2 separate regions of the Homo sapiens genome follow, and region 2 is linked to region 1. The links are contacts of gene promoters, found by promoter capture Hi-C in blood cells and fetal thymus (Javierre and others, 2016). All regions are on one chromosome and are shown on one strand. The core of a region is centred on a gene start or on the middle of the fragment in contact, and the rest is flanking DNA. Distances in the headings are between cores, read along the strand shown. Region 1 holds the start of MORC2 (MORC family CW-type zinc finger 2). Region 2 overlaps PES1 (pescadillo ribosomal biogenesis factor 1).

Evidence for each region. The method cuts DNA at HindIII sites, captures the fragments that hold promoters and counts their contacts. A CHiCAGO score of 5 or more calls a contact.
Region 2: a contact is called between a fragment that was not itself captured here and the fragment with the promoter of MORC2 in region 1, in 1 of 17 cell types (fetal thymus). The highest score is 5.2, in fetal thymus.

What each region holds. Positions count from the first base shown.
Region 1 is chr22:30,967,524-30,971,262 of GRCh38, forward strand. It overlaps MORC2 (MORC family CW-type zinc finger 2), which reads right to left and starts at 1,251. Exons shown (of 26, transcript NM_001303256.3): 1 at 299-1,251. The coding sequence starts at 366. It overlaps TUG1 (taurine up-regulated 1), which reads left to right and starts at 1,742. Exons shown (of 3, transcript NM_001396518.1): 1 at 1,742-3,739. The coding sequence starts at 1,834. The coding sequence ends at 2,295. RefSeq lists an enhancer at 1,653-1,982 and a silencer at 2,013-2,262. The HindIII fragment of the contact is 3,441 bases long and covers 455-3,739 here.
Region 2 is chr22:30,587,080-30,590,672 of GRCh38, forward strand. PES1 (pescadillo ribosomal biogenesis factor 1) reads right to left here. Exons shown (of 15, transcript NM_014303.4): 2 at 2,112-2,191; 3 at 942-1,095; 4 at 207-316. Among named protein-coding and RNA genes, the nearest start is that of PES1, 3.0 kb to the right of the region's middle. RefSeq lists an enhancer at 1-765. The HindIII fragment of the contact is 5,514 bases long and covers 1-3,593 here.

The sequences.
Region 1 (3,739 bases), core at 1-2,500:
TGTTGGATTCCTATAAACACTTGAATGAAACAACTCAACATATTGACTTCAAATAACTAAAGTTTGCATTTAGAAAATTTTGATCCAATAAACAAAAATCAGATTCTTCTGGATTAGCAACAAGTATTTCACTGATCTCAGTTCTTCAATACAGAGCTCAAGATATCCAGTGACACATTTCACTCCAGTGGGATACATCTCAAAAAGTGAAAAAGCAAAATTTTCTGGGGAAACGATTTCCATATAATATCAAGGAACGAGTTACTGGTTACCTCAGTGGCACCTAGAGGATACTTACGAATTTGTGTGCAGATATTCAAAGGTTAGCTGAGCTCGATTCAGACTGCTGTAATTTGTGAAAGCCATGACTGCAATAAGGTCTCCAGCCCTTCACCCGCTAACTGGGAAATATAACCTTATAATGATATCGATTTCCCAGGATTCTGTCCAGTAAAGCTTCAGTAAGTCTGTGCTCCTTAATGACAGTTAAAGTAACCTAGTAGCTATCCAAAATATATGCAGAGATGTTTAAAACTACAATTTCTTCAAGTGTTTTTTTTTAATCTTCTCAATGATTTATGATGTAATATTTTGGAAGGAACTATGTCATAAATCTGTAGCTTTAAGGAGCTTTTAGCATTAAGTTGCGATAGCTCAATTCAGACAATCTGAGTCTCGTGTGGATGGTCCTGAAGGAGATGGTCCTTGAGTGGGTGGTTTATGACTGCTCCATCTTCATGTTCTTCCAGCCTTTTTTGGTTCCCCGAAATTTCCTGTCAGGAAATTTACCAACGCGGAAATTTACCCACTTCTGTCAGAAAACTGATCAGCCATGTCTTCGCCACACGTGATGCCAGGATTCTTAAACAGGCCCAAGACCGGAGACCAAGATGTCGACGGAGTGTTATATGGCGCAAGTTGCAGCTTCACCACCTCCCAAGTGAAAAAGCTCCTAGGCACTCACGATTTCTTTTTTCAAAGCCGGACCAAACCCAGTTCAGGGTGGTGGTCAGATTACCTCACACTTGGCCCACATAAACACCTCACAAATGACCCGCCCACAGCACCTCGGGCAGGCCGCGCCCCGCCCCCACGTCCCTCAGACAACAGCCTCAGCCTCCCAGGCCCTTCCCGGGCCTCGGTCCCGTGGCCGCCTCCCCACGAAGAGGAGCTACTCCCGGCTTCCAAGGACCGGATCGAGGGCAGTGGCGAGCGCACCACCTGACCGGGCACTACCCGGATCTCACAACTGCCTTTGTCCCTCCCCGCGGAATTGGAACCCAACAGCCGCAGAGCGCTCTTGGAACCATGTGCTGCTGCCGCCTCCGCCGCCGCCGCCGCTGCCTCCGCCGCCGCCCGCGCGCCGCCCGCGCGCCGCGCTAGTTGAGATGGTGACAGGATTCAGCAACACGAAATTCGGCGTTTAGAGCTGCTCTGCCGCCGCCGTCACAGACACCACAGCCACCGCTTTGTCTCCGATAGTGCACACAGCCCCGGCCACCTCGCACACTCCCCGACGCCCCAAGCCCCCGAGGCCTCCGCGGAGCATTCAGCCAATCACAAAGCTGCAGCTCCTCCCGCCCCCGCCCTGATGTACAGCCTCCTGATTGGCGGGCTGCGTGTCCCCATGTGACCGGATCTTGGTTGGCCGGTCCCGCCCCTGTCACGTGACAGCGTGCGCCTCTCTTCCTGCTTTCCTGACCCTCTCCGCCATTTAAAGAAACAGTACCGGGGGCGGGCCGAGCGACGCAGCCGGGACGGTAGCTGCGGTGCGGACCGGAGGAGCCATCTTGTCTCGTCGCCGGGGAGTCAGGCCCCTAAATCGAAGAAGCCCTGGCGCGCCCTCCCCCCCTCCCGGGTCTGGTAGGGCGAAGGAACGGGCGTGCGGTCGATCGAGCGATCGGTTGGCGGCTCTTTCTCCTGCTCTGGCATCCAGCTCTTGGGGCGCAGGCCCGGCCGCCGCGGCGCGCGCCCGGTGGCCGTTGGCGCTCGCGCCGCGTCTTTCTTCTCGTACGCAGAACTCGGGCGGCGGCCTATGCGTTTGCGATTCGACGAGGAGTCGTCCGGGTGGTCGGCGGCGGCGGGCAGCTGCTCCGCCCCGCTCCGGGGGAGGCGGCGGCGGCAGCGGCCGCGGGATTTGGAGCGGCCGGGGAGGCGGGGGTGGCCGGGGCCGGCTTGGAGGCCTGGCGCCACCCTTCGGGGCCTGCAAGGACCCAGTTGGGGGGGCAGGAGGGGGCCGGAGGATGGTTGGTTGTGGGATTTCTACTTTGCCTTTTCCTCCTTATGCCGCCTTAGTGAGGGGCGGGAGCTCTGGCGGCAGCCCCGGGGTGGGGAGACGAGCTCCGGAGTCGGAAGAGCTGGGTTTTCTTCCGGGCCTAGCCACCAGTTGGCGGAGTGACCTTAGGCGAGTCACTCTGTAATTTGTCTGCGCCTCAGTTTCCTCCTCTGCCTATCAATGTGTGTGGGGTTGAAATCGCTTTGTAAACTATAAAGCGTGGGTGTACGTAAAGGATGGTTATTGTTTATAATTTTTTTTGAGTTGTAAGAAAACTTAGCAGTTCCCCAATCCTTGGGTTTTGAACCTGGGAACCTTGGATTGGAGTTGGGGATCCCCAAACTTCCTGAAATTGTGGGAATGTGCGGTTTGGGGGAATGATGGGAATTTGTGGGAATGTGCGTTTTAGGGGAATGATGATCCATCGCTAGCAAGTTTTCCAAGGGGGCTGTGACCCAGAAGAGTTAAGAATCACAATTTCTTCATGCTACAGAGAGGAAACTGAGGCCTAGATGTCATTTGGGACCCTTCACAACCATTTTGAAGCCCTGTTTGAGTCCCTGGGATATGTGAGCTGTTTCTATGCATAATGGATATTCGGGGTTAACAACAGTCCCCTGCTTGGCTTCTATTCTGAATCCTTTTCTTTCACCATGGGGTGCCTGAAGGGTGGCTGATGCATATGGTACAATGGCACCCAGTGTAAAGCAGCTACAATTAGGAGTGGATGTGTTCTGTAGCATCCTATTTAAATAAGCCTATTTTATCCTTTGGCCCGTCAACTCTGTTATCTGCTGCTTGTACTGGTGCCTGTACTTTTCTGACTCTCATTGACCATATTCCACGACCATGGTTGTCATCCATTACTTGATCCTACTTTACATGTCTAGGCTGTGTGGTTGGTGGTGAATAGGCTTCTTTTTACATGGTGCTGCCAGCCCAGCTAATTAATGGTGCACGTGGACTTTTAGCAAGCGGGCTCACTGGAAGAGACTGAACCTGGCATGGAATTCCTGAAGATGTTTGGGGTTTTTTTCTTTCTTAATCGAAAGTTAACATTGTCTGAAAAGTTTTGTTAGAACTACTGCGGAACCTCAAAATCAGTAGATTTGGAAGTGATTCAAAGCTAAACTTTTTCCTTGGCCCTCCTTGTGTTCTAATTGCTTGCAAGTGTAATACTAGGATGTCCAAGATGCCAGTTTTTGCTTCTTTGTTAGTTGTCAGCTGCTTTTATCAAATTTCAGGCCATTATCCAACAAACACTATAAAAATGTTTGAACAATTGGATTTCAAACATTTTCGTTTTGTGGAGTGGTGCTCACCAAGTGGTACAGCCCTAAGCAAGTGAACACAAACACATTTAAGTGTATTTTGTCTGATTAGATGTTAGCCAGTTATGCTATTTCATTCAAATGTCTGAAAAAATCAATTGACTATTCCCTTTTCCTAAAGGGCAGAGACAGA
Region 2 (3,593 bases), core at 102-2,601, 380 kb before region 1:
TCAGAGACCCCTCTGACAAGCCTGTAACTACAAACCTCGTAATCATTATAGTAATTTGCTAGCTTGGTTTTTGGTCTGTGTCCTTGAAAAAGTTGCAAGCTCTTTGAGCAGGGTCTTGGTCTTATTCCCTATTGTATCCCTGGTGCTAGGGCAGAGACCAGCAGTAAATGAAGAAACAGCAGTGTCCTGAGGAAAGCCCGGCTCACCGTTCCTTGATGATGTGGTCGAGTTTGTAGTTGGGCTTATTGTCCTTTAAACGCTCTACAGTGTTCCACTCGCTCTTCCCATAAGCCTTCCGGAGCTTCCGGACGAACACCTGGAAGAAAGAAAGAAAACACCTCAATGCTGAGGCTCAGGTCTCCTGGACAACTTCTTCCATGGAAGATGGAAACGCAGGGCAGAAGGACTCTCATGCCTCCTGAAGCTGGCCACGGCTATGTGCCTGTGTCACTGACCCCTCTGCCCAGGATGAGCAAAAGAGCCAACTCCAAGGAGCACCAAGCCTGGTGTGTTAACCAGCAGAGCTAGACCAGGCACCCTTTTTGACAATGCACAGATGTCCCAACTCCACACGTTTACATGGGAGGATGGCACAGCAAAGCAGCTCCGTTTTTCAACTGAGAACAGAAGCCAAGTGACCTGACACTGACAGGATGAGAAAGGCTGGCCTCCATTGCCAACACCAGACTATATCAGCATGAAACAAGCTGTGGGTCTGTGTGTGACACTGAGACACCCAGAAAAATGCAACGGAGTCCTGTTTTGGGGCCAGGTCCTCCAAACTAACCGACCTCTTCCCTCCAAGTACTTCTGTTGAGGCTCACCCTGCCCTCTGTATAGGCTTACTCAGAGAGGGTAGGCAATCTGCCCAAGGTCACAGTTAGTTAGTGGGTCACAGAGCTGCGATGAGAACCTGACAGACCCTAGAGCCCAGACCTCACCTTGTATTCACGGAACTTGTTGACAATGGGTTCGTGGAGGAGAAACCTGATGTCTTTGATAAGGTAAAACGTTCGGGCTGCTGTAGAACCCTTGTTAACCTTCTTCTTGTGTTTGGGTTCATGGGGATAAATGCCCTTCAGAATGCACAGCCGCCTGGAAGACAGAGGCCATCTGTTATGTCAGTTATGTGGGTAAAGGTGGGGAGCACTGGCCACAGCTGGGCCTGGAAAACAACAGTAAATGGGGAACATGGGGTCCCTGCCCTTAGAGACCTCACATCCTAGTACATGAGTCTGACAGTCACAATCATAAAACAAAAACGCAGACTTGCGAGTCTCTAGGGGAGTTAAGAAAGGCCTTTCTGAGATATCAACATTTCAGCCATAAAAAGGAGAGAAGCATCCTAACAAAAGAGACAAAGTCCAGAAGGCTGGAAACAGCTGGTGTGTTTGAAGGAATAAAAGTGGACCAGGTGGCTAGGCGTGATGGCTCACATCTGTAATCCCAGCACTTTGGAAGGCTGAGGCAGGAGGATCACCTGAGGTCATGAACTGGAGACCAGCCTGGCCAACATGGTGAAATCCCATCTCTACTAAAAAAAAAATACAAACATTAGCCAGGCACGGTCGCCAGCAACTGTAATCCTAGCTACTCGGGAGGCTGAGGCAGGAGAATCGCTTGAACCTGGGAGGTGGAGGTTGCAGTGAGCTGAGATCACGCCAATGCACTCCAGCCTGGCCAACAGAGTGAGACTCTGTCTCCGGGGAAAAAAAAAAAAAAAGTGGGCCAGGTGAGCCACAAAGGCCAGGGACCGCCAGAGGGCAGGGCCCACAGGCCACAGTGAAGTCTTATTTTGACTCTATGAGGAATGAGAACCCCTAGTTGCAGGATCAGGGGTCTCTTCTACCAGATAGGAGGGGATGGATGGCAGGGACCCAGCCCAGCCCATCCCAGCCCAGCTAGCCCATCCTGACAATCCAGTTCAGTTCTCCTCCATTTTCCCTTGGACCACACCTAGCAAACACAACTCACTAAAGCAAGGGCGGTGAGAAAGAGAAGGAATACCAGAACCCCAGAATGGGTATGGCAACTCAGGTAAGACAGGGATGCAGCTGAGTTTTCAATGTGCAATTCACTGCCCGGGCTTCCCACGGTCCCTCTATATTCACCTAAAGTCAGCCAAGCTCAGCTGGAGCTTCTTCCGGGCTTTGTTCCGGGTGATGTAGTTGGTGGCCGAGCCTCGTTCATACTGGGAGAGGAAAAAAACAATTCTCCATTAGCAATGATTGTAGTGACTGACATCAAACTCTGGGCATGCCTAGTTCCAGAGGCAACTATCACTCTGGATAAGTGGCTGAGATGAGTCTAGGAGAGGAAACACTGCAGGGAAGGAGCCGACCTGCCTGGATGAGCTCTCCTGTACCATCCTTGCGGCTGTCAGCATAGGGAACACATACATCTGCATGATGCTGAGGGCTGCGAGGCTGCTACGGATAGGGTGCTGTGCCAAGTGCTTAGCACTAGCTCTAAATGTTGGCCATTACAATTAGTGATTTTCACACATTTCATTTAATTCCCATAACCCTGTGATGTAGGTGCTGTCCGAACGTCCATTTCACATAGGAGAAAACGGGCTCGTAAAATAACCCATGCAACTCTTAAAAAGCACACAGCTTTTTAAGAGTTGGGGCTGGGATTCAAACTCAGGTCTGAGTCCAGTACCTGAATGCCTAATAGCTAAGCCAGTGTTCCTAATCTTTTCCCCTTCTTTTCTTCCTCATTATAACCTCTTCACCACTACCAGGAGACTTATTAGACACCCCCTTCCTCCCTCACCCATCACCCTTTCTTCCCTATGCCCCATAAAATGTTAATACCAGAGATATACTGTAGGTCTGTTTATGTAATGTAGTCCTTGGGGAGCCACAACCATTGTAATAGCTAAGATACTGCCCCTCAACCAATTTTGTTCCCTTGAGGGTGGTATTACCCTGGCTGAAAAAGCATGCTCTAAGCCACACAGCTTCTCCCCTTCCTCATTCATTCATTCAACAGACAATAACAGGTCCTCTATTATGGTCAAAGCACTAAGCTAGATGCTATGAAGGCAATAAAGACAAAAAGCCTGGTCTCTACCTGCCCCTAAGAAGCCTATTGTCTTGTATAACCATCTGGATGCCTGTGGTGCTAAGATGCTGCCTCACACCCACATTTCTGTATCCCTCACACTTCTGTATCCCTCGATAGAGACAATCAGTGCACTGTAACAAATACCCTGCAAGCTAACAAGCATGTCGTTTCCAAACAAGATCTTCCTCTGGACTAAGACAGCAGGGGCCTCTTTGGCTAGGTTCAGCTCTAAAGAGACAAACCTGTTAGTCTCCCACAGGTACGTTTACTAATAACATCATAGTCATGAAACATACCCTTCATTCATTCTTTCCTTTAGACATTAATTGTCTATTAGGTATTAGGCCCATGCTAAGTCTTGGAGGTATAAAGATGAGTTTCAGACTGCCTTAAGAAGTTGAGTTTTCATTTATAGCGTTTTCCATTACCTTATGCCACACTTATCTCTGTCACCATGCTTATCCTTATAAATGTTAAGGGAATAAATAGTTCTCAATGGGGTACTCCCTGGGTATGTGCTG